Linked DNA regions of Homo sapiens: all the other regions are linked to region 7. The links are contacts of gene promoters, found by promoter capture Hi-C in blood cells and fetal thymus (Javierre and others, 2016). All regions are on one chromosome and are shown on one strand. The core of a region is centred on a gene start or on the middle of the fragment in contact, and the rest is flanking DNA. Distances in the headings are between cores, read along the strand shown.

Region 1 (3,685 bases), core at 295-2,794, 1.5 Mb after region 7:
TTTTCCTAAATGACATTCAGAAATTTTACTCATATCTCTGTGGAAATCACAGTCTGCCAACTCTTTTAAATGCCTATTTTTATTATCCTTTACATAAAACTAAGGAGTTGTCAAATATCTTTCAGAAAAACAAAATGAAAAGAATTTATATGATATATATAACAGTCATGAGGCTAAGACTTTATATAGACATTTAATTATCTAGATCACTTATTTTCCTATCTTTTGTACCATTATGTTTTTCTCTTTTAAATTATTCTTTCCCCAACATGCAACATTTTAGGTTGTTCACAATTCATTGTAATCAATTTGCCATGCCCTTTGATCTTCTCTTTTTCTCTCTTTTCTTAGCCAATTTATGAGACCAGGTTAGCCACATATGTTGAGTGTGTGGCTCTCCAAAATTATATACCACAAATGGCATAAGTTTGAGGAATTCAGATAACTGTGGCAAACTCTAACCTCAGCTGTACCCAACAAAAATGAAAAAGAAAAGGCTTTCCCTTTCTTAAGCCCCTAAAAACATTTTAATAGAAAGCAGAGTTAAAGTCATCCTGCCACTTCTTCTTTTTACCTGTGTGGGCTTTTCAAGACCTAAATTCTCTAGGTCTCATCATCTTTCTCTTTCTTTTTATTTATTTATTTATTTTTTAGAAAAGCTATTTGCCATAGGGAAATCCATTTTTCGGATTGGATATATAATAAATACATGAGAGAATAAGGTATGCCTAAATGGGACAAACCAGAATCCATGTAAATTTTGAACCTCACCTGCAATTTTGAAAGTCCTATTAATTTAAAAAATAGTAAATACCTTAATTTTCATGATAGCTTACTGTAAGGCTCCCTAGAGGCAATGAAAATGGGAATCTCAATAAAACGAATACTACCATACATCCTGGCTTCAGAGATGAAAACAGAGGGAGAGGATTGGCTAGTTATCAACAGAAGGGTAAGGAAAAAAAGCACAGAGAAAGAACAGACAAGGCAACAAAAGTGGCAGAACTGTAAGGGCCAATACGCATCCACTGCTTCAAGTTTTTCAGCCATGTTCCATTCTCCGAGATTTCTGGTAGTGCTTCAAGAATACTGGTCTCCAAACTCTTCCTGAAAAGGGCTAGGAATGCTTCTGCCTGAAGATCTTACCTATTCTTTCTGGGCCCCGTGATCTCCCTACATGATTGATCAACCTACTATTTCAACTCTTTCAAGCCTTTTCACAAATGTCAACTTCAGTGAGGCCTCTATTTAAAAATGAGCACCCTACGAAATCCTTTCCTCATTTCTGATTATCCCCTGTGAATTTACATCTGCCTACTCCGTACCCTCAGTTTATGCCCCTTGAACACTCTTGCCGGGCGCTTCTCCTTTAAATCTTGCCTGGAAGGGGCGGAGCTATGTCCCAGACTCACCGAGAGGAGCGTTCTCTAGGCTCCGCCCACTTACGTCTCAGTGGGCGCCCTAACGAACCCGGGATACGGTCTGTTCCTAGTCCGCTCCGGAAATGCAACTGCGTACGGGCTGGCCGCGTAATCGTGACGACAGCGCGCCAGCGCCGGCTAGCCGGACGCCCTAGGCTTCCGCGAGATCTTCGGTGGGGGTACGGGTGTTTTACGCCAGGACGCTGATGCGTTTGGGTTCTCGTCTGCAGACCCTCTGGACCTGGTCACGATTCCATAATGTACCACAACAGTAGTCAGAAGCGGCACTGGACCTTCTCCAGCGAGGAGCAGCTGGCAAGACTGCGGGCTGACGCCAACCGCAAATTCAGATGCAAAGCCGTGGCCAACGGGAAGGTGAGGTTTTCCCAACGGTTGCCCAGTTGCCCGGTCACTAAATTCTGAGCAGCTGCGGGAGCTCTTCTGGCTCCCAGGACAATCTCGCTCCGTCGTTTCTCTGCCTCTGCGGCGCGGAGTGCGTTTTTCTATCAAAATAAGCGAGCACCTTGCCAGGTTCCGTGGGTACAAAGACGAACAACGCCATCCCCGTCGTCGAATGGCAGACAAGTAACCAGTCTTTGTAACGTAGTGAAGAAGAGAGTAAGTAGTGTGCTAAGGTAGTGCGTGGCAAGAGCCGTTCACTTGTCAAGAGATGATGTTGGGGAAGGTTTTTCCCAGTAGCCAATGCGGAGAAAATGGGAAAGGAAGTTCCAGGCAGTCAGAACCACCGTTCAGAGTGGGAGGGAGGTCAGAAGTTACAGAGATGGTGCGTGGACGTGTTTGTGGTCGTATGTGGCCGAAGTTGAGTACCTGTGCAGGAATGGCTGGGGAGGGTAGGAAGGGAACTTGTAAGTGGAAGTGAGGCGTTTAACATTTCCACTGAAAGGATGAGGAACCTTTGAAATATTTAAAATGGGAAGCTAACCTTATCAGATTTCCGTTCTGGAAACAGCGCTCTAGCAACCTCGTGGTGAATGGGTTGGATGAGGGAGGGAGACCAGAGACCAAGTACAAACCAAGTGACTGAAGATGGTTTGGACTATGGCCCGCTAGCCAAGTTCCTTCTGTTACAGCTCTCGGACTGGTTTAATCTTTCCTGCAAGCTCCACTCCAGCAAGTGTTCAGTGCCTCCAAATTACCGATACTGAGTTACTTTACTTTCTACCTTTAATTCACATCTATTTCATATCACTGATTTTAGCACCTGAATTAGTTTCCTAAGGGCTGCCTTAAAAAAATCACCACAAACTGGGTAGCTTAAAATAACAGAAATTTATTGAAACATTTGCTGTTTTTTTACAACTTGTGACGTAATGACTGACCGAGAAACGGATGTTGGAAGCTTTCCAATCATATTTTAAAAAGTCTGTCTACTTTTTAATTTATAAATAATGATATCACAACTGTGAGCATGTGCACACAGCCTGTCATGATTGTTTATACTTTAATGAAGCAAAGGTCTAGCTGACATTCCGAAAAGTCGTGAAATGATGGTACAGTTTTAGTTTATTAAATATTTTCCTACAGCTATTTTGTGTAATGATTAGCGAATCTATAAAGAAAATGAGGCGTGATATATACCCTTCGTTGGATATATAAACTAAATTTAATCTAGATAGAGAAAAATGTTTTACAATTGTTTAATTCATTGAATTCATTGAACTTGTGTTGTAATTGTTGATCTAAAGGTTCTTCCGAATGATCCAGTCTTTCTTGAGCCTCATGAAGAAATGACACTCTGCAAATACTATGAGAAAAGGTTATTGGAATTCTGTTCGGTGTTTAAGCCAGCAATGCCAAGATCTGTTGTGGTAAGTTACAGTGGTGATGAAATATAATGTCCTTTAGTTGGCTTGTGAAATTTGACCTCTTCTAAATTCCCTGTCCACTCAAGTCTTAAAAATTCACCTTAGTTACAATTAATTAGTTTTTGGCACATTATATATTTTTCAATACAGGCCTTAAATCATGAGTTGCTGTATCATATCTTCAAAAGTATTTCAAGTCTCACTTTGTGGTCAGAAAAAAATTTGAGGTCAGGTAATGTCATAAAGAAAGAAAAAAAATAAATTACTTTCCTCTAAGTTCTCAACTAATGAGCCATAGGACTGGGACTAGAACATAGACTACTGCTTTTCCAACTCTGTGACACCCAATAAATGTTTGAAATAATGCATTCATTCATCATTGGTAATCATATGCCCCAGCTGAAACTGATACCATAAGATTTTTTTAAGCCTTGATTA
Region 2 (3,440 bases), core at 421-2,920, 1.5 Mb before region 7:
AGTGTATTAGCAACATACTCAGTTGGAACTTCCAATTCTAAGATTTGCTTTTCCCCTTCAAAGCCAGATGGTCTCTAAGGTACTTAATCTACTTAGTTCTGTAAAATTCTTATTGTTAGCAACTTGTAATAAGATTTGCTCTATGAAATGGTTGATGTATGAAAAATTTTGTTAAAGAAGGCAGTATAAAAGGAAACAAAGTGTCATATTTTCTTGATTCAATAAATGTTTTACCAAAGCTTATTTTAAGCTAGGCATTGTGGTAGATTTATTAGATATAGGAACTTGATATAAGATATTGTTAATAGAGAAGGTTATAAAATCAAATGCACAGAGATATAGAAGATTGTCTTTTAATTGTCTACAAGACAATTAAAGTAAAGTAGCTAGTTTAATTTCCTGAGCCACTTTCTAATTTTTACTTTCTTGGGTTTAAGTAGTGTGTTTTTAGGTATGAATCATGGAATTCAGTTGTCCCTTGATAAGCACAGGGGATTGGTTCCAAGTCGCTTAAGGATGCCAGAATCTATGGTGCTCAAGTCCCTTGTATAAAATGGCATAGTATTTTCATATAACTTTCACATATCCTCTTGTATACGTTAAATCATCTCTAGATTACTTATAATACCTAATACAATGTAAATGCTATGTAAATTGTTATACTTTATTTTATTTGTATTATTTTTTATTGTGTTATTTTCCCAAATATTTTTCATCTGCAGTTGGTTGAATCTGCAGATGTGAGGAACCTGTGGTTACAGAAGGCTGACCGTATTTTAAATACTTTTGAAATGCTATTATAGTTTAAAGTTTTTGTATATAAACAATATAAAAATTAAGTGTTTTGTGGTTTTCAAACTTATATATGAAACTTAAAATTTGCAGTTTGAGTATTGAAATTTTACAGATCAAGAAAAAGTTCTAGATCTTTAAGTAACAAGTACTTTTTGGATTTTGAATATTTTAATCATGGATGTATTACACTGTTAAAATGATTTGTAATCAAATCATTCTAAGGCTGTTTTATGTTTTTTCTCTTAATACAGTTCTTAAGAACATACTCTTGCTTCCTATTTGGTCTAGATGCCTCAGTCTAAATCGGGAGTTCTTCAGTGAAGGTGCACACTGGCTAAACTGATTAATAATTTTATATATTTGAACTGTATTTATTGGAAAGAGAGAGGGATCATAGCTTTCCTAAGATATTCAGACATGGCTATTTAACTGCAAAGGTTAAAGATCACTACATCAATTTGTAAGATTCTTGAAAGTAGTTTGGAGTATTACAGATTTTGTATTACGTTCTTACCATGTTTGTCATAGTGTTTTGTAGATGTTAAATACTGATTGCATGGCTTCATAGTTCCCTGTCAGCTTCTGGAGGGTGCATTTTTCCTAACTCATAGCTTATTTCTGTGAGGCATACACTATTCTTTCTTTGACTGTATTTCTGATGGTATTCTCCCACCCCAGCTCTCTTTCTACTTCCTTTCCAAATTCTGTATTTTTATTTTAGAGCCCAAGTAATGATTTACCTTTACCTAAATTTTTCTTATTAGTAATAATTTTTACCATTGTGAAGGATTTTTTTTCAACACTGATTTGGTCTTTGTTTTAATAATAAATAGTATTTTGTGTTATAAAACATTTGTTCTGTTTCAAGTATAAAAACTGACTAACATAGTTATCAAAACCGGTTTTCTATGTGGTTTCTAGAACCAGTGCAGTATATATTCTTTTCATTCCCTATGACCATGTTTTATCTCCTCAACATTTTTTAATTGGTTAATTTTTTCTAACTGTTCATTATGAATATTCTCAAACAGAAAAATTGTCAGACTAGTACAATGAACACCATTGTACCTTCTGCCTAGATTTAGTAATTAGTATTTTACCGCATTTGCTTTACCTGTCGTGTGTATATTTTTTTCTCAATCATTTGAAAATAAATTTCATATATCAAGAACTCAGTCTTTAGGCCAGGCACCATGGCCCATGCCTGTAATCCCAGCACTTTGGGAGGCTGAGGCAGGTGGATTGCTTGAGCCCAGGAGTTCAAGACCAGCCTTGGCAACATGGTGAAACCTAATCTCTACCAAAAATACAACGATTAGCCAGTCTCATAACCCGGTCTCTAAATTAATTAATTAATTAATTAAATTTTAATAATAAAACAAAAACTTGATCCTTTAATATTTTAGCATATCCATCTACTAAGAACAAGGATATATCTTTCATAAAGCTATGATACCAATGTTACACTTAAGAAAGTTAACAATAATTTTATAATATCATATAATATCTTTCTCATTTCGGTTTTAATGTATTCCAGAATAGGAAGCCTGGTGTCTGTTTTGATATATTACGCAACACTTATTGTGGTGTTGGCATTCACTAGCCACTTAAAAATGTTTGATTCAATGGAGTATTTTCATATAATACCTTCTATGGTAAATAAGAGTTAAACAATCTAAAACATCATCTCATAGTTCAGTGTTTTCAGATGAAGGAAATGAGATGCAGAGCTGTTCTGTGCAGAGCTGTGACTAGAGACCAGGTCTTAAGTCTCAGTGTAGTTTTCTTTTGGCATTATCAAAATTATCATTCATAATTTATGCATTGTTTAGGTATGTATTAAGTCTTAGGGCTAAATGCTAAATACTTACCAGAAGTATCTTCTGAACATTTTTCTTAATTGATACGTGCGCATATGTCGGGTTTTCAAAATTATATTCTATAAGATTATCTGATTTCTTATTTCTAGGTTGCTGTCTTAAACATTATGTTTTATAAATTGGAGATTCTTACTATATTTATAATTTTGGCAAACTAAAAATTAGTCCTTATCCATGATTATTTTCTGCCTTTACATCTATATAGTTACTGGATTACTTTGGTGATTAAGATTACATCTGTAATCTTTTCAAATTGCCATTTTTATTGATACCTTTGAGGTATGGTGACCTGGTTTTAATTATTCTTTAACATAGGCTTTTAAGTATATAAAAGTTCAAAAAATAATAATTTAACTTCTTTTTATAATTTTATTATATTTTCATTCTTTAGAAATCTAATTTACATGCATGATATGTTCAAGCTTACTTGTAAAGGAAGGATTTGCTAAATGAACTAGTAGAATAAAGATTATAAAGAGGGTTGTTTAAAGAACCTTGAAATGTCAAGCATTTAAAATGTTTTAGCAAGTATGTACAAATATGACTGTGATTGACTTTTTTGGTAACATTATCTTTTCCCCAGTTAATATTATAGAATACTAATTTGTAATGTTTATCACATTATATGTATTTTTGCATCCAAGAAGTTACATTTAATAAACATGTTCCACTTCCTAACAAAGAAGTAAAAGCAAAAAGCCATGTCTTAATGTAATAATTTTGCATAATGTAAAATTTTTTAAATACTTAGTGTAAAATGGTAGT
Region 3 (3,536 bases), core at 178-2,677, 1.4 Mb before region 7:
GACTGGCAGCTCCCCAAAATGGTAACTGAGAGTAGCACTAAAGCCTTAAGTTTTGGTCACGTTCTCAGGTGAGAATGTGACCAAAAGAGAGGAATTGTTAAACAAAATTATGGGAGGCCATTTTTCTGGATTGAGCTCCTGCACTAGGCCCCAATAGACCAGACCAAACAAAAATGGAGTCTCTCATGCTAAATGCAGTGTAAACAAACTGAAACTTTAAGGAAGCATATAGATCTCAAAATACCATGTAGGTCTTCCTAAAAGCAGGAGACTCCATAATAATATGAAAGTCTCCTCCGTTCTAACACTTACAAGAAAGTAACCTGAAGTTACCAATCAGTTTTTTTCTATTGTTCTGTTTCCTTGTTCCCACCTTGCAAAACTGACAATTCTGTCTATTTCCCAGTGGGATTTGAGACCAAATAAGTCAATTTACAAAGGTGACAAAGTGATGTCAATGCCTAACGTTTTAGTCAATCCTGCAAAATTGAGATGTTGACCAAAACAGGATAATTGTCAAATTAAGTTTAACATAAAACTATCTCTGTACCTATTTTAAGTTCAGCCTAAAGGTTTCTGCATACATAGTAAACTGTAATCTAACTGGATGTGTAAATGACTGTAACTTACTTACTGTTGTACAATCACATAGTCTCAGCCAATCACAGGCAGCCAACTGTTCAAAGCAAGGTCAAATAAAGAAAATGCTGAGTTGTAACCAATCCAGTTGTTTCTGTACTTCACTTCTGTTTTCTGTATATCACTTTCCCATTTCTGTCTATAAATATTATCTGACCATGTGGCAGCCCTGGTGTCACTGTGAACCTATTCCAAATCTGGTGGCTGCTCTATTTGAGAATTGTTCTTTGCTCAATTAAACTCCATTAAATTTAATTTATCCAAAGTTTTTTCATTTTAATGAGCCATTGCCTAACACAAGGTTACAAAGATTTATTTACATGTTTTCATGTAGGGGTTTTATGGTTTTAGCTCAGGTTTGTTAAATAAAATTTATGAGAGGTCATGAGTCTGAACTGAGCTCCTGCATTAGGCCCAACAGAACAAACCAACATAGAGTTTCCAATGCTGAGACTCTATGTTATCAAGTCAAAATTAAGTCATCTATCTGGCCTTCCAAGAAATCAGGAGAAACAATAGCCAAATCCCTGTAACAAGCCAGTTTTAGCAGGCATGATAAGGAAGCCCTCTTTGCTTTAATTTTTAGAAGGAAAGCCACTTCATATTGACCAATTTGCTTTTTATTCTCTATTTCTGCTTTTCTCAGCCCCTTTCTGCCTATAAAGTCAAGCTTTCCTCTCTTCAGCTCATGAGAACACCTCATTCTATAAAATAGAATTCTAGAATCACAAATAAAAGCGAATTGAGACCTTTGAACTGAATTTGTTGCAATATTATCTTATGACATGTTCAAGTCTATGGGGTCTATGGGTATGGCTAATAGACCATGTTGTTCTTGGGAGTGAGGTAGATAGGCAGGCAATAATAGTATAGCTTCACTTACACACAAAATTAAATTAAGCTTGGGTGAACAGAGCTAATATCAATGGAAAATAATAACCCTTCACCCAGTTTCTAGAACGGAGCCATGTCTCATACTGAAGCCCATCAACTGAAGGGGATCCTGGGTCCTGAGAAAAGTATATTTCTTCCTTTGGTATATTCAGTGTAATTTCCTCCAATCCAATCCTAAAATTTGTGAGAGCAACTGTACCCTGAGAAAAGGGTGACCTGCCAGAGCTTTTGAGTGCTGTTAAATACAAGATCTGAGCCAACGCTGACACCAGGGCAGCTCAGACACGGTTATGGCTCTCCTGATAGAGTGGAGGTATACAAATGCTGGGTGATAAATGAAGTCCTGGCCCAAATTGTTTCACACTGGTTGCAGTGGGTCCACAAACCCAGTCTGTGGTCATTTTTCTGACCTACAGTCAAGATGAATATTCTTGGTAACTGACAGAAACCCACATTAGGCTCTAGACGATGAACAAAGAGCCATTATGGTAAGAGAGGACAACTGAAAGTCCTTAAAACTGCCTCAAGCCCAACCAAGATGGTAAATAGGAAGTAGTACCACATCCTAGGCAGAATGGTGAAGAGTGTGTCACTCTCAGAGACTTAAAGGTGATGGTCTCTATCACAGTTTCATTTAATTTACCAGTTAGGTCTTTGCAAAAATCAGATGGATTGTGTCAAATGTTAGTGGTCTAACATCACTTAAGCATGAGGTAATGCTGATCTCAACTGCTGTGGGTGATATGGAATCTTTACTAGAAGAGATCAACTTAGTCTTTGGCAGTTTTATGTAGCTATTATTTGGCAAATGCATTCTTTTCATCCGGAAGAAGGAGCAGAGTATTCCCTTGGCGCAGGCAGCGGTTCACATTCAAGGTCTTACTCAAGGACTAAGTTACCTTTTCTGCTTTGTGTCATGGTCTGAAGAGTCCTTGATCATCCTATTATTGAGCAGAGTATGATGTTGGCCCACTATATTGGTAATATCATGTTCCTTACACCTGGGAAGGAGGAAGTGCAAGTACTATGAATACCCTAGAGAAGGGGTCCAGACTACAACAATAAGGCATAAAAATTATTTTGAGTTGAAGGCATTTGAGTTCTTGAAATCTCTTTATCTGCCTAAAAGTAGAGCTTCCCAAAATACCTCAATTGTCATAAATCCTCACCCCTGGAACAACTGAGGAAGATTGACTCTGATTACCAAAGACAATGTCTCCAAACTACACCCAAGGAGACACAATCACAAAAACTATCATATCTTCCAATCTAGTCTCTATTTCGATTTCATAAGAGTCATTTGTTTTCCCATAATTCCCTTATCCCTCTCCTTCTTCATCTAATAAGATAGTATTTAAGTTCCAATTCTAACTGCTCCTTTGAGTTACATTTTTTTGTGAACTCCCATACGTACGTGTGTGATCAAAATCAGTTTTTTTTCTCTTAAAAAATAACCAGTTAGAAGAAATGGAGATAATATCTTTGACTTGTCAATGAAATCATTTTGCCTCTACAACTTTGTAACTCTCTCTGATTGAGTGAACCATCCAAAAGACTAATTTTCTGTACATTAATTCACATCTTCAATCAACTAACTTCTTCGGATAAATTGCATGTCCTTTTAAAACATTGGTGATTATGTCATACAATTTACTGCTTTAGCAAAGGAACTACTCAGAGTGGTGGGTAACTTTTTTTTTCTATGGGGAACCAATAATCATCAGCCAAGAAAAAAAAAGAGAGAAAGAAAAGACTTAACCCCCCCCCCAAAAAAAACCCCTCAAGCAGCTTAATATATTTTCTGAGAAACATACATATAAATGTCATAAATCATACAAAAATACAATTGTATATCATGTCCAGTGAAGAAATAAGAAACATTGAGACATTGAGGGAAAAGAGATATAGTAAGAAAGAGAGAAGACTTATTGGAGTAAGGGGTAAGAATAGGCCTTGAGAGGGAAGAGACGACAGAAAAAGGAAGGGTGGATGTAAGAACAGAT
Region 4 (3,635 bases), core at 827-3,326, 1.4 Mb before region 7:
GCAGAAAACTTTCCTGGGGCTCACTCAAGTGGTCCTTCAAAACAGGATGACTTCAATCCCTCAAAGGCAGGCATAGCTCTGGATATTCCTCAGTGCCTCCCCCTGCCCTCTCAATCACACACACACACACACAGTTCTTTTCCTTGGAGACTTGATTGCTGGGTACAATGCTCTTTCAGTGCACACTTATTGATAATCTCACAATTACCTGTCCATCTTTCCCTCCCATTAAATGAGAATATTTAATTTTTGCCTCAAGAGTTTAGTTGCTAGACCAGGCTTCATTTTTTTTTTTTAAAGAAATAAAAGAAATTAGGTCTTACTCTGCCATCCAGGCTGGAATACAGTGGCATGATCATATAGCTCACTGCAGCCCTGAAACTCATGGGCTCAAGTGATCTCATCTCAACCTCCCTATTAGCTAGGACTATAGGTGTGCAACACCATGCCTGGCTAATTAAATTTTTTTTTGTAGAGACAGGGTCTTGCTATGTTGCCCAGGCTGGTCTTGAACTCATGGCTTCAAGTGATCCTCCTGCCTCAGTCTCCAAAGCATTGGGATTACAGGCATGAACCACTGTGCCTAACATGATCCATTTTTTAAGAAAGGCCATTTCTGTTCTCTTGACTTATTCCCTAGCCTTCACTTATGTTTATGGGACAACTCTCAGTGCACCCCTAATTTCTATTTACTTGCTTGCCTGCTTTACTTACCATCCAGGCTCGCTGAATACCACTACCCTTGGTTGGTATGGCACAAAATGATATTTCTAATCTTTCTACTGTATTAGTAAACTGTTTAACATGATAAACTTCTTGAATTTCTAGTAATTGAGAATTTTAGGGTTTGGGTTCCATGAAACAAGTAATCACAAAGAAGACTATGTATTATTTAAATTTCATAACAAAATTTATGAAGAGTTTACTTATGTTGAAAAGGGTTATGTACAAAGGTAAAATTGAAAACCTTTCATCTTTTTGGGTATTAAATTTCTGATCATATTAGTAGAAAAAGAATCTCATTTATTGCAAACTTAATTTGTGCCACAAGGATCATTAGCTGTGATATCAGTGTGGCCACATCATAGTATGAGCAAATCATCACTTCCTTCTTTAGAAAAAAGTACAACAGTATAAAAATATGTTGGAAAAACAAAGGCTGTAGTTTTGGTTTACATATTCTAACAAGTTAAACCTGAAATATCGATATAATCTTAGAAACTCTAGTATGATAACCTCACAATAATTAAACATATTAAGGAGCAACAACTTTATATATATTTTGTAAATAACTTCTCCCAAGTTATATCAACACAGATTTATCAAAAGGATATTAGCATCAACTTAAACTTGATAATATTGCCCCTTTGCTGGTAGCTCTGTTTAGCTGACTGGGGTTTGTCTGGATAGCAATTAAGGCTCTCAGTTTAGAAAGCCTGATAAGGTTACCATCATTTCTAATAGCTATATTGTTTGGGCCATTGTTTTTGCCTATAGATAGTAATCCTCTTGCAAGGCTTAAACATTAATCTAATCTTCCCTTTATGCAGCCTCTAGGTCATCTTAGGTTGAATCTGTACTCATAATACTTTATTTGTGTCACAATATCCTATGACCCAAATCTTTCTTGAAAAGCTGCAAAATCCAAGAAATGGGGAAAATGGCAATATTATTAGTTGGCAATGGCACACATTTTCCTTTACAGAACTTTGAATTATGCCTTTTTAGCAGATTTATGATCACGCAGGGCACTGAGTCTTGCACAGCTGTGGTTTAACCTCAAGTACTTTTGTCACATTTTGTTTTTTTTTATAAAATGTGTTTCAATTCTGACATTTAGAAGATTGCAGCTTTGAAGAATTTGTGTGGACCTTCTGCAAGCATTTTATTTTGCTAATGAACTAAAATTGATCTCTGTAATTGAAAGATAATGATACTATTTGAGTGTAATGACTAAATACCAAGTGAAATTTTGCACAGATGAAATTCTACACAACCCTGGATATAATATGACTGCTTTATGTTAATTGTGAAATCACATTGTATAGCTTCTCTAAATTGTTTAATTACTAAAGTATAATAATAGATGAAATGAGCAGTGGGAAGGATGATAGACTGGACGCCTGCAGACTTGAGTTCCAATCTGGACATGTGAAACCTTGAGCAAGTCCCTTAATTTCCTTGGGACTCAGTTTTTACCTATAGACTTGGTAGAACAAGGTTATTTAAGGTCTCTTGCAGCTCTTCCATCTTTATGAATCTGAATCCCACCAAATTGATTTTTCATAGTCAGTAAAAAATCTGAACAAAGCTGAACTGTGAAATTTTTGACAAGCATTAACAGGATTGAACATGTTTTAGACGCTCAGTGTTCTGTAGGAGAAAAGAACAGTTAAGAACTACCCCCATCCCTAACCCACCCTATACATAACTGGTGTTTCTTTAAATTTGAAACTGCAATTTCCAGTTACTCTAAACTGGTTTTGTACTTCTTGTGGTAAGGACAGATAGAGAATGCTCCAACCTATCATTTCACAGGGCATGTTGCACTTTATAAACAGTAACGAACAGTGGGTTGGGTGGGAGATCTGGATCAGTTTGGGTGGTGTATAGTCCAGACTACACTAGATTTATCTTCGATACAGGCTCACAAATCTTACTGAGATTTTTTTCCCCCTGGGGAGTAAGAAAATAAGAGATGCAGAAAAACCCAACTGCTGGCAATACCAGGGAACCTGCTTTATTAAATTTTCCCCAGGGAGGTTCATTATTAAGCTCTGAAATATAAAATCTTACTATAAATGGCAGATGGGGACTTGTACTCTCTTTATTTGTAATATGCATATTTTACTAATTTCCTACTAAAATCAAACTTACCGATTCTCTCCCTCTCTCTCTCTCTCTCTCACACACACACACACACACACACACACACACACACACTTCTCTGTAGAATTTTGTGGGTGGACACGGAATATTAAATTGTACAGAGAATGTTCACATTCTCCTTGAAACAAAGATTAATGGAGGTTCTTACGTACCATTTGTATTGCCTTTGCATTTCTAGAGTCTATGTAAGATACCCGTGATGAAAACATCAGAGAGAAGATTTTAGAAACAGGTAAAACAGAGTTGCTGTTTTACCTGTTTACCAGAAAATATCTAGCTTTATTTTTACTGAGGGATAAAAATACTTTATGCACATACATTTGAAATGAAAAGGTATAAATAAAAATGCAGTTGTAGAACAGAAAACCTGAAATAATAGATTATAATTTATTTGCTTTAGTATTCACAGGAGGTTAGTTTTTAGCTGTTTACATTAATATTACGTTTTTTTTTGTCAGGTAACCTCTGAGTCACAATATTTGATCACACTTAACACTGTTTTTAAAGGACAGAATTTAGGGTTTTTTTTTTGTTTGTTTTTAATAAATAGTATTCTATTGTCCTGAAAAAAGAATGATGTTATCATAGGCTTTTGTTCTGAACAAACTAATTCCCTGTTTGCCACTCATAATTTTTTAAAAATTATGATTAAAACACTAAATAATTCAGTTTAATTTACACAGAGCGAAATACATTTTTTTTGCTATAATTCAGAAATGTCAAGCCATTAAAGGGTTTTCGTAGGC
Region 5 (3,811 bases), core at 680-3,179, 1.1 Mb before region 7:
AACATTTGATTATAATTGTTTTAATGAGCTGTGATTTAAAGTGATGAAGTTGTAATGGTTTGGGTAAAAAATCTTCTGTTAATGAGTTTTTATTTCTATTAAAACCAACAAGATAAAAAATTCTCCAAGGATAAAGTTTAGTGGCAAAGCAGTGTTTACTTTCTGAAAATTAAAAATCCCTAATATTGACTACATTATTTTCAACAAACATGTTTATTAATTATTGGTATTACCATAGAAAGATATGTTAAAAGAAAAGTGAAATTATACAATAGACATAGAATGCATTTATGTGACTTGTTTTCATGCTAAACTTTGGCAATAAGGTAAACTTTGCCTGATTTTTGGGAGTCACTCAGCCTTTTTTATAATTTATATTTCCTTCAGGCACAGACAGAGTAGTCAAAAAAGTTGTTCCATGTGAAACAGTAAAACCATCATGTCCATTTAAAGTAGGATGTTGTAAATTGATGCTTGTTTTGGACACCCACTATCACTTTCTCACAAATGTGTGTCTCCAAAATGAACACTGTCTAAAGAGAAGTTAAATATATGGTGAGCAGATGTCTACCAATGTTTGCATCTTTTTTAAAAGGCAATGTAGGAATTCACATTTAATCTTATTAAAATTAAAAAAGATTAAATCTGGCCAGTGTAATTTATCTGTATATTAGAATTCTAAGTGATTGTCAGTGAGAAATACAAAGACTGTGAAGGGTTAGTGAAAGGAATTCTATTTAGGTGGCATTCCAGGGCTCAGAAAGTTTGGTAAGGACAATGAGGGCCATTAATTTTTTTAAATCATTTTATTTTATTTCAATAGTTTTTAGGGAACAGGTAGTTTTTGGTTACAGGGATACGTTCTTTAGCGGTGATTTCTGAGATTTTGGTGTACCTGTCACACAAACAGTGTACACTGTATCCAATATGTAGTCTTTTATCCCTTAGCCCCCATCCCATCTTTCCCCCTGAGTACCCAAAGTTCATTATATTATTCTTTTGCCTTTGCATCAGCATATCTTATCTGTACTTATAAATGAAAACATATTATGTTTGGTTTTTGCACTCCTGAGTTACTTCACTTAGAGTAATGGCCTCCAACATCCAAGTTGCTGCAAAAGACATTATTTCATTCCATTTTACGGCTGAGTAGTATTCCATGGTGTATATATACCACATTATCTTTATCCACTTGTTGGTTGATGGGCATTTAAATTGGTTCCATATTTTTGCAAATGGGAATTGTGCTGCTATAAACACGCGTGTGCATGTGTCTTTTTTGTATAATGACTTCTTTTCCTTTGGGTAGATTCCCAGTAGTGAGATTGCTGAATCGAATGGTAGTTGTACTTTTAGTTCTTTAAGGAATCTCCATACTGTTTGCCATAGTGGTTGTACTAGTTTACATTCCTACCAGCAGTGTAAAAGAGTTCTTTTTTCGTCACATCCATGCCAACATCTATTATCTTTTGATTTTTTTTAATTAGAGGGCCATTAATTTTTTCATTTGCTGCTCTTAAGGGTACAATCCCAAACAAAAGTTCACTCTCATCAGTGGAGAAAATAGCTTTGAATTTTGAACTTCTACATACTCAATTATAATTTAACCTGTAAGCTTCAAATAGCTAATGGCAATATCTATTTGGTATAACACACACACATACACATTCACAATCATTTTTTCAATCTGGCTTTATAGTAGGAAATACAATTGAGAAACTTCAGAAAAAAGGAGGCCAACATCTCAAACTTCTCTCCTAAACCTGGTTAGTTTTTTTTTCTTCTATATTTTAGTTTCACAAATTTAGGTATAATATTGAACTCCTTGTTAGTATAAAAGTTTAGATGTTGAAATAGTTTACTTACAAACCTAGTATATCGCCAAGAAGCTGGCAATATAAGAGGACATTTGATTCGTTAATTCCTGCAGGTATTTTACATCATTATGCAAATACTAAAAAAGTATAAAATAAAGTGATCTATAGTTTAAAGCCAGATAAGAAATAATGGTAGCCATAACAACAACAGCAACAACAACAACAATAATAGTTGCTAATAGTTATTGATTGCCTACTTATGCTACTCTCTGTTCTGAGCACTCTGATCATACCATCTAATTTCATCCTCACAAGAATATTGTGCAGTAGATACTGTTTCAGTCCTTTACTAGTGAGGAGACTGGCTCTGAAGTAATGTCAACAGCAAATGTCAAATCAGAATGTCCTAATACAAGGAAAGCTTAATTTGGGGTTTACAAGTCAATGGAGTTACCCTTATAATTACTCTGTGGGACTTAAAATGAACTAATAAAATGAAGTTCCAGCATGTTTCATAAATGTTTATTACATATATGATCCCTAGGTATTATATAGTATATACTACATTTCTAAACATTGCAAAATAATAATTTATTCACTTAAAAGATATTTATTGAGTTATTGCTGTCACCTGCCAGGAACTGTTCTAAACAGTGGGAATATGGTAGTTACTGAAACAATATCCTGTGCTAATAGAGCTTATTTTCTAGCATTACTGTATTGTGCATATCATATGTCAACTTGTTTGTCTCAAAAATTTGTTTCAGGATTAATCCATATACACATAAATTATTTTATGTTTTTGGTTGAAAACATAAAAGTATACCACAATTAACTGCACTACTCATAAACTGAAACATTCTTCAATTTTCTTTTATTATAAAGGATGCATTTGTGCCTGTGTCTTCTTGTGTATATGAGTAAGAATTTTTGTCTGGTGTGTAAATTTATGTATTTGCTGGGATAAGCTAGTTTTGCTGCCATAGGAAGCAACCTCCAAACCTCAGTGGCCTAACACAAGAGAAATTTTTTATCTTTCTCACATAAAATCTGTTAACAGGTTCAGATGATCCTTGAGGACAGCTCCTGACCATGTATGTGGCTCAGCATTCTGAGGCTGACTTGATTTTGTGTCCCCTACACATTAGCATATGCTTCCAAGATCATCTTCACAAGGCAAGATGGAGCTTGAGAGTCTTACACTGGCAATTACATATCCAGCAACACATGACAACATTGTTTGACTGTAAATTATTGGCTAGAACTAGTCCCACCCAAAGACATGGGGACTAGGAGTTTAATCCTTCTATATGCCCAGAAGAAGGAAAGAATATTTTCTCAATCTATCTGTGGAATTGCCCTGCCATTGAGTAAACACATTCTACATTTACAAGATACTGGCAAATTTATCCCCAAAGTGATAGTTCCAAGTTTATATTCCCATCATATGGATAGAGGATCCCTGTTTTCTCACAGACTCACCAGAGCCTGACATTGTCAGGCTTTATAAATGCTGGGCAATCTGATGCATGTGAAATGGTATCTCATGGTTTTAATTTGTACTTCCCTGGTTACTGGTGAGGCTGAATATTTATTTAGTTTCTGAAGTTTGCCTTTAGGGAGGAAAAGAGTGAAAGTGGGGTGGAGGTAGATATGAAGGACTTTAAATTTATCTTCATTGCTTTATTTCTTGAAAATATGATTTGAAAAAAGTACAGAAAAATGTGGGCAATTGTTAAATTCAAATAAAAATACGTTAAAGTAGCCTTACTCTTTTTGGTTACCACATTAAAGCAAGTTTAAAACTTATAATTGTTTTTAGAGCCACTTTTGCTTACCTCCAAGCTTGGAAACATGTTTTACTGTAACCCTGGTGACAAGACACACCCACAGATTCCCAATAAGTGCTCTTGAGACTTAGTACCTTTGCCCAACTTCAATTTAACTAAATCTCTTGGGATTTGGCCATCAGGAAAAAGAACATACTTGCTTTA
Region 6 (3,673 bases), core at 852-3,351, 1.3 Mb before region 7:
ATTTTCATGAATGGCTTCCCGTAATTGTGTAACCCCCTTTAAAAAATGTATGAAGAAGAAAGAGAAGGAGGAGGAAGAAAAGGAGCAGGAGAAGGAGGAGGAAGAAGAGGAGGAAGAGGAGGAGGAAGGAAAGAGGAGGAGGAGGAGAAGAAGAAGAGGAGGAGGAGGAGAAGAGAAGGAGGAGGAGAAAAGGAGGAGGAGAAGGAGAAGAGGAGGGAGGAAGAGAAGGGGGAGGAGGAGGAGAGGGGGGAAGGGAGGAGAAGAAAGAAGAAAAAGAATCAGTCTCACTTATGAACTACATAACATAATTTTTAGAAGGCTGAATGGCAACTTCCAATTACTGAGAAGTGTAATAATTGCCTTAGTAGCACCCTAAACATAGTTATTTTTCTTTCACAACTACAGTTTTCTTTCCCATTCTTTAATTTGAAAACAGTCATTTTTATACTCATTTATATATCTAAAATGGGTAAAATTTTAGACGTCATAGGTAAAAAACATGCTTTAATTTTTCTAATTAAGATGGAGGAACTGGGCCAGGCGTGGTGGCTCACACCTGTAATCCCATCACTTTGGGAGGCCAAGGCTGGTGGATCAAGAGGTCAGGACCAATATGGTGAAAAACCCCGTCTCTACTGAAAATACGAAAATTAGCTGGGAGTGGTGGTGGCGCGCACCTGTAGTCCCAAGTACTATGGAGGCTGAGGCAGGAGAATCGCTTGAACCCAGGAGGCGGAGGTTGTAGCGAGCCAAGATCGTGCCACTGCACTCCAGCCTGGGCGACAGAGCCAGACACCGTCTCAAAAAAAAAAAAAAAAAAAAGATGGAGGAACTGATTTCTGGCCATGTTGGCTTCAACTTTACTTCATAAATTAACCAGTAGGTGTTGCTATGCTAGCACTAATGTTGATTCCACAAAAGTTAACTGGTCAGTTTGTGGTGAGTGGGTTCCCAAACAATTCTAATTTGTGTATTCCTCTTCGAAGACCGAAACCCTGCCACCAAATACTGAAGGCCTGATGGGATTATTTTGGGTGCAAAATAAGTTTTTAAATAAAGAGGACCTTCTATTCTCCTGTGTCAACTCACAATACTGGGAAATAATTTCAATGGCTTCCCAGTAGTTAAGATATTTTGGCCTTTGGAGAAGCAAGCAATGATCAATTTGTACAAGTAGGAAAAAAAGCCCCATTTTTATCTGCTTCACTCTTTTTTTCCTATCTGCACTTCATTCACAATACATATTATTATCACCCCAGTATCCCAAACCCACGTTAAAAAGAAGTGAAGGTCTCTCTGCCTGGCATAAGCTTCCAGGCATAGATAACCTTTGAAATGTTTTCGTTTGTCAGACAAACAAGTAAATTCACACAGGACTCACAGCTTAACTCTTCACAACATACCTCAGCATCTCAAGTGTGTTTACATTGAAAAGTGTTCTCATAATCCTTTGTGTAGGCAGAAACAAACGATTTCCTTGTTTAACCTCTATAACCCTTCCGCCTGTACTAATCATTCGGCAGAAACAGCAGACACTACTACTTCTGTTTTTGACTTCAATTTGCTAAGCAAAGCCCCAAAACTTAGAAGAGTGAAATATTTGTGATTTCTATGTTCAAAGATGAGGTTCTTAAAATTAAAAAAATCTGATAATTGAGTTTTAGGCAATAAGCCAAACACTTCAGTGTGTGCTTTGATGAAAAAAATAAATGCAGTTTGTATACATTCTACTGATTTTGCATCTCAAGTTTCCTCACTTGTACCAAGCATGTGAAACTGATAATCTAAAACTGTCAGAGTTGCTTTTTTTTTTTTTTTTTTAACTTGCTAAACACAGCAGAAACCTATACACTTCAGGATGAAAACTAGCACTTTGATCTAACAACACTGTTTAAAGAATGTTAGTGTGTATTTTGGTACAGAGCGAAAGGAATGACATTGGGTGAAGGAAAGAAGAAAGGATAAAGCTCTAGAAGGAGATGAGAAGGAAGGCGGGAGAAATGTGAAGAATGAATGAGAATGTGAACTTGTTATATTTTTTTTCACAGTTGCATCTATTCAGTAATGTGAAGCAATAACAGTTTATTGAGCCTTTAACAGCTAGGGCTGAATCCTATGAGCCAAAGAGAATGTGGATTTTTCTGTAAATTGTTCCTTGCACATTTAAACATAATCTTTAATAAAACAGTGAAGTACTTCTGTTGTAGAACTCTCTAAGCACTTTCTAAATGGCAAAACAATAAAGCATCTTGAAGAGTAGGGTTGAGAGCAAAGTAAAAAAACCTAAACATTTTCCAGTTATTTTATAATGAATTTTCATTGATTTTTATAATCATATGACTTGCAATGTGTGATCTTTTCCCCTTGCCCCTTTGCCTTCCTCCTTCTTTCCTTCATGCTTCCTTTTCTCTGTATTTCTCAGTGGTGTCATCTGCGGGCAGCTTCTGTGTATGTTAGATAGCTGACTGTGAGATTACAATAGGTGAAGGAAAAACATCTAAACAGTTTTTCTCCCTATAGAGTTTCATTATTGAAATGCTCTGAAGTCATGGGTGGTGAGTGCGAAAATGTAGAGATGTAGATTGGTTGGTAATCCACTCAATGTTTGTAGTAACCAGAGCTGTAGCATTCTAATCATTCCCTGTACCATCCCTTGGAAGCTGGGTTTAATTCAGCTAAATGGTCCATGGTATGGACTTCACTCCCCTTCAATTAGATTTCTCCCCTCTGGCGAATTCTTAATCAGAATTTCCTACTATTTAGTCACTAAATTAAACCTGTAAATTGTCAGTAACTTCATATAATGTAATGATATATCCATAAGCACTGAAATTACTTAGAGTATTGTGTATAACGAACATTCTAACGTAATAGTAACACAGTTAAGCTTTGGTATGGTGAAATAATCTTGTTAGATATAGCAATAAAGCACAAAGGATCGCTTATCTTTGCTTTTGAGAAAATATATAAAAGATAGATGCTTTTTTCAAGAAAGTGTGGATTTAAAAGGAGTTAGGTGTAAAACCCTCACTCAAATAATAAATAATTATATTTATGAACTGATTGCTTAATATGTACCAGATGTTTTGCTAAAGATTTTACATACCTTATTTCATTTAATATTCACAACAATTTAATGAGGGTAGGTACTGCTATTACTCACTTTTTAAATATCAGAAAACTGAGACTTAGAAAGATTAAGTAACTTGCCCAAGGTCACACAACTAACTAGTGCTGGAGCTGGGATTCAAATTCAGGTATGTTTGACTCCAGGATTTGGGCTCTCTACACAGTTATGGAAATATAATCAGCATATATTTATACACTGAGTTTTATTATTTTTACTTTATTTTGTATAAAGTGTTCATCTTGAAATGTGATCAAACCAAAGTGATAATTGAAAGTTCAGCATATTTATTGAGTTTCTCAGACAAGACTTCCTGCCCTGCAGGCATTTGTACTGGCAAGTCAAGCACTGCCACTAGAAATTGTGAAATAGTAAGTCAATAAAATATAAGACTATGAGAGATCAGAGTAGATAGGGGTAGTGAGGGAAGGCTTCCTGAAAGAGGTGAGCCTGAACCAGATCCTGCACAAATATAGAGGTGTGTGAGTTTTACTAAAATGGCTAGGTAGAAGAGCATGAAAATGTTGTCGAGGGTGAATAAATTGC
Region 7 (3,782 bases), core at 1,143-3,642:
TGTTCTCTGCCATATTATTAAAATGAATTCATGGTAATGGCAAACTCAACATTTGAAAAACCGGCAAACAAAATACATTGTAAATACTAATCTGCAAGAAATACTACTATTTCAGATGGTTTTTGCTTTGTGACAGTTTGTGATGCATTCCTATAATAAAAGGGAGGGAATGGTCTTAGTTTTGCTGATAGTCACAATGATGAGCTGGAACTTGAAGATTGTTCAGATCTAGTTGTACTTGCCTATAAAATAAACCTTCCCCTTTCAAGTGAAGCCTTGGGACAGTTGCCTAAATGTTGAGGCCACTCTTCTGAGAGAAGCTACTCACATCAAATACCTCCTACATTGAAGCAGGAGGCTTTTTGAACCATACTGTCCTCATATATTAAAATAGTCATCTGGAGGCATATTGCTGAACTTAACAGGAAATACAACTAGTCATTGGGTTAAACGTAGTGCTAAAAGGAATTTTCTAAAGTGAGGAAATCTTTAGTTAGCTAGATATTTCAATATACTATTGTCTAATCTCATATATTCCATGTTCTATTAATTTTCCCTTCTTGCTTTCACAATATTTTTTAAAAAATAGTTTGGTTTAAACATTTTATGTAATCTATAATTCTACTGGCATGCAATCTTGTCTTTTCATGATTCTATACTAGTTGATGTATTTTATCTTTGGCTTTATTGGGCATGGTATATATTAACAGTTGGTTAGGGCGGGAGGTGCCCAATCTCTAGTAGCCTAAATATTAAAGCCTTTTTTTTTTTTTTTTGTAAGGAAAAGTGTTTATCATGCTTTAACCTTAACATAAGTATCCTCCCTTATCAGTCTCTATTTCTGCTTCCTGTGCAGCTGAAACTCTTCAGGATAAGTGAAGTCATCAGCTATCGGCTAGGGTAGCCTAATGCATTTGGGAAGTTGGTTTGGTTTACATGTTAATGACCTGGATGAAGTCCAGTAAGGTGTGGAAAAGATAGAGTGGGGGGAGGGGGGGAACTCCGAGGAAGCTGCTTCCTCGGTAAATATTTCCAAACTGATTAGAAAGTTCATGGCCCCGCGATGAAGTCGAGATCTCAAATACTGGTAATTATTTTATTATTTCGTACATTACTAACATTAGAGAAACCTTTCGGCTCGCTTTCTAGCGCTCCAACCTCTCAGGGTGAAAACCGCGACTTCTGGGCGTGCAGGAAAAGCACGCTGGAATCGAGTGCTGCAGACATCCTGGACCGTGGTTTTTACGCGTGAGTAACGGAGGAGCGCACCGACCGGTGGAAGAGAGAAGTGGCTAACGCGTGTCCAAAAGGGGGAAAAGTCACAAGAGCAACTATTAGGGTCGCGCTCCTATTGGTCAGAGGAAAGATCCCGACTTTAGAAGGACTTTCCTGCTGGCTGGCTCGCAGCGTCCCCGGAGAGCAAGCGAGCGCGCCGCAGCGGGAGACTAGGTTCTCTCCGAGCGTCCTCCGCAGAGGCGCCGCGAGAGGAGCAGGGAGCCGCAGCTCGCCGTGTTGTCTTCATTTCGTGCAATAAAGAATTGTCATTAGGTTTGCGTATGGCATGTGCTATTACCCCACCGTAAAACTAAAATTAGCAAAATGTCAGGAATGGAAAGATTGATTCACCAAGATGCAATTATCATTTAAAAGTGCTTGATTGAGGTACTGATGTTCAGTGATTTATTCTGCATACCATATACATAATTAAAGTAGTGTAGTGGAGTAATTTATCAATCTAGTTGAGACTGGAGGGGTGAGGAGGGAGCTGCTGTATGTTTGTTTTATTAAAATGCTCCGAGGTCTAGTCCCGCCCCCCTTTTGCAAGAGTGAAACTGATGATTTCTCCAGCTCGCGAGGAAAGAGTCAACGGTTTGGGATTGTGGGGGAGAGAGAGACGGAGAGAAAAAGGCAGCGCGAAGCAAAGGCAAGGACAAAATTAAATAAAGGGGGAAAAAAGGAGGCAAAAGACATTTCATCGGACGTGCTGCTTAGAACCCCAACCATTCGTGCTCCGTCTTCCCTACCACCCCCGCCTCCCCTCCCAGTATCCTTCAATCCCCCCCGCCCCCACCACCCCCAGTCTTTTTTACGCGATGTTTCAAACGCTGTGAGCTGTTCTCCTTTTCCCATTCGTCTTCTGTCACTTCCTTCCTGGACGCAGTTTTCTGGACGAGTCTGGTTACTTTTAATCCGACCGGCCGCTGAGAGCCACTTTCTCCTCCTCCTCCTCCTCCTCCTTCTCTTCCTCCTCCTTCTTCCTCCTCCTCCTCCTCTTCCGAGCGGCCTCGGCGCGCGCGAATGCGCGGCCCCGCGCCCCCCCCCTCGCGCGCGCTCCCCTCGCGCGCGCGCACACACGCACACATCGTCTCCAGCTCTCTGCTCGCTCTGCTCGCAGTCACAGACACTTGAGCACACGCGTACACCCAGACATCTTCGGGCTGCTATTGGATTGACTTTGAAGGTTCTGTGTGGGTCGCCGTGGCTGCATGTTTGAATCAGGTGGAGAAGCACTTCAACGCTGGACGAAGTAAAGATTATTGTTGTTATTTTTTTTTTCTCTCTCTCTCTCTCTTAAGAAAGGAAAATATCCCAAGGACTAATCTGATCGGGTCTTCCTTCATGTAAGTACCCCTGATATTTCTCGAGGAAATAGAAAACCCGGGTATTGTCTCTAAAATCTGCATCAATATATTCCACGGCACTGTGTCTATCTATCCCTGTGCCTTTTTTGAAGGCTGAAGTTGAGGCTCGTTGTGCATTCTTTTTCGTTAGATTCCATGATTTCCTTGTTTGTTGCTAAAAGTAACTTTTTAGATAGTCGTATCCGTTTGCCATCAGCTATTGAAATCACTCCTGACTCGTTCCTGTCACACCAGTGTATTTAAAGTTTCATGAAGTTAGTTCACGTCATTAGCATGTTTGATATGGTGGAGCGTGTGGAGCCTGGTGGATTTTAATATTTCACAGCATGTTCTGTGACCTTGAAGTAGACGCCTTAAGATTTAGCAGTTAGTTCACTGTGGAAAGATGCTCCCATGAGTCCCCCCAAAGACACTGATTTGCCCTGGGTTATGCTTCTGAGCCACTAATTCTTGGGATTAGTTTGACCTAAAGCATGGCTGTCTGTCAGAGTATACCTTTGTGCATTTCCTTCCCTCACCAAAGTGCCGGCTTGACAGAGGGCTTCTTAATTGGTGTGGACAAAAAGTAATATCCCTGCCATAGTAGTCTACACATTTCACAATTCACGTTCGATTTCAGCATATGGATTGCTGTTCAGGTCAAGTCAAATACATAGCTGTTTAAAAGCAAGCAAGGTTAAGTCACTTAAATTGCCTTCTCTTTGGACTTGGAATGAAAGTTACCAAACTCGATGATAAAGTTTGTCACAAAGGAAGTATATATAGATGTGGCACATTGTTTATTTTATTATTAAATATTGTGGAAGTATTTAAATTTAATGCTAATGTTACCTTCCTTCCCTGAACATGGCTATTGCTTTTTAAAGGAAATTTTATATCTGAATCACTTCTGACTATTCTAAGTCCAGTAGTTATCATTCTTTGGGGAGAGCCTTTTTTTGTCACATTTTAGGAATGCGTGTCTTTTGTATAAAATACTTTATATGTAAATGCTGACAGTAGACTAAGTAGAATTGGGCTCTCTGCCAGTTCCTTAACCGGTCCTCAGTGGAGAATTGCTTTGACACAAAGTGCGTTTTACTATTGTGAATCTGAAACTAACTCTAATAGTAACTGTCTTATGAAATGCTTGGGGACTGC

Evidence for each region. Contacts are between HindIII fragments. The CHiCAGO score rates a contact against its expected background, and 5 or more counts as called.
Region 1: a contact is called between the fragment with the promoter of CCNH here and the fragment with the promoter of MEF2C in region 7, in 1 of 17 cell types (M2 macrophages). The highest score is 6.0, in M2 macrophages.
Region 2: a contact is called between a fragment that was not itself captured here and the fragment with the promoter of MEF2C in region 7, in 1 of 17 cell types (endothelial precursors). The highest score is 5.2, in endothelial precursors.
Region 3: a fragment that was not itself captured here is called in contact with the fragment with the promoter of MEF2C in region 7 in 2 of 17 cell types (naive B cells and total B cells); the score reaches 5.9 in naive B cells.
Region 4: a contact is called between a fragment that was not itself captured here and the fragment with the promoter of MEF2C in region 7, in 6 of 17 cell types (naive B cells, M0 macrophages, M2 macrophages and 3 more). The highest score is 14.9, in naive B cells.
Region 5: a contact is called between a fragment that was not itself captured here and the fragment with the promoter of MEF2C in region 7, in 3 of 17 cell types (monocytes, M0 macrophages and M1 macrophages). The highest score is 6.3, in monocytes.
Region 6: a fragment that was not itself captured here is called in contact with the fragment with the promoter of MEF2C in region 7 in 6 of 17 cell types (naive B cells, M0 macrophages, total B cells and 3 more); the score reaches 14.0 in naive B cells.

The regions. Positions count from the first base shown.
Region 1 is chr5:87,410,789-87,414,473 of GRCh38, reverse strand. It overlaps CCNH (cyclin H), which reads left to right and starts at 1,544. Exons shown (of 9, transcript NM_001239.4): 1 at 1,544-1,796; 2 at 3,128-3,250. The coding sequence starts at 1,680. LOC105379066 (a long non-coding RNA gene) reads right to left here and starts at 1,492. Exons shown (of 3, transcript XR_948543.1): 1 at 1,413-1,492. RefSeq lists enhancers at 1,588-1,757, 1,788-1,917. The HindIII fragment of the contact is 6,680 bases long and covers 1-2,783 here.
Region 2 is chr5:90,394,171-90,397,610 of GRCh38, reverse strand. All of the region lies in intron 4 of CETN3 (centrin 3), which reads left to right. Among named protein-coding and RNA genes, the nearest start is that of CETN3, 14 kb to the left of the region's middle. The HindIII fragment of the contact is 2,858 bases long and covers 242-3,099 here.
Region 3 is chr5:90,250,178-90,253,713 of GRCh38, reverse strand. The region is part of intron 3 of LINC01339 (long intergenic non-protein coding RNA 1339); the gene reads left to right. Among named protein-coding and RNA genes, the nearest start is that of LINC01339, 38 kb to the left of the region's middle. The HindIII fragment of the contact is 231 bases long and covers 1,312-1,542 here.
Region 4 is chr5:90,268,660-90,272,294 of GRCh38, reverse strand. The region is part of intron 1 of LINC01339 (long intergenic non-protein coding RNA 1339); the gene reads left to right. Among named protein-coding and RNA genes, the nearest start is that of LINC01339, 20 kb to the left of the region's middle. The HindIII fragment of the contact is 8,813 bases long and covers 1-3,635 here.
Region 5 is chr5:90,022,119-90,025,929 of GRCh38, reverse strand. No RefSeq gene overlaps it. Among named protein-coding and RNA genes, the nearest start is that of MIR3660, 7.3 kb to the right of the region's middle. The HindIII fragment of the contact is 623 bases long and covers 1,618-2,240 here.
Region 6 is chr5:90,182,741-90,186,413 of GRCh38, reverse strand. The region is part of intron 4 of LINC01339 (long intergenic non-protein coding RNA 1339); the gene reads left to right. Among named protein-coding and RNA genes, the nearest start is that of LINC01339, 110 kb to the left of the region's middle. The HindIII fragment of the contact is 1,577 bases long and covers 1,313-2,889 here.
Region 7 is chr5:88,881,794-88,885,575 of GRCh38, reverse strand. MEF2C (myocyte enhancer factor 2C) reads left to right here and starts at 2,392. Exons shown (of 11, transcript NM_002397.5): 1 at 2,392-2,621. MEF2C-AS1 (MEF2C antisense RNA 1) reads right to left here and starts at 2,246. Exons shown (of 10, transcript NR_136219.1): 1 at 2,091-2,246. RefSeq lists an enhancer at 1,285-1,334. The HindIII fragment of the contact is 10,727 bases long and covers 1-3,782 here.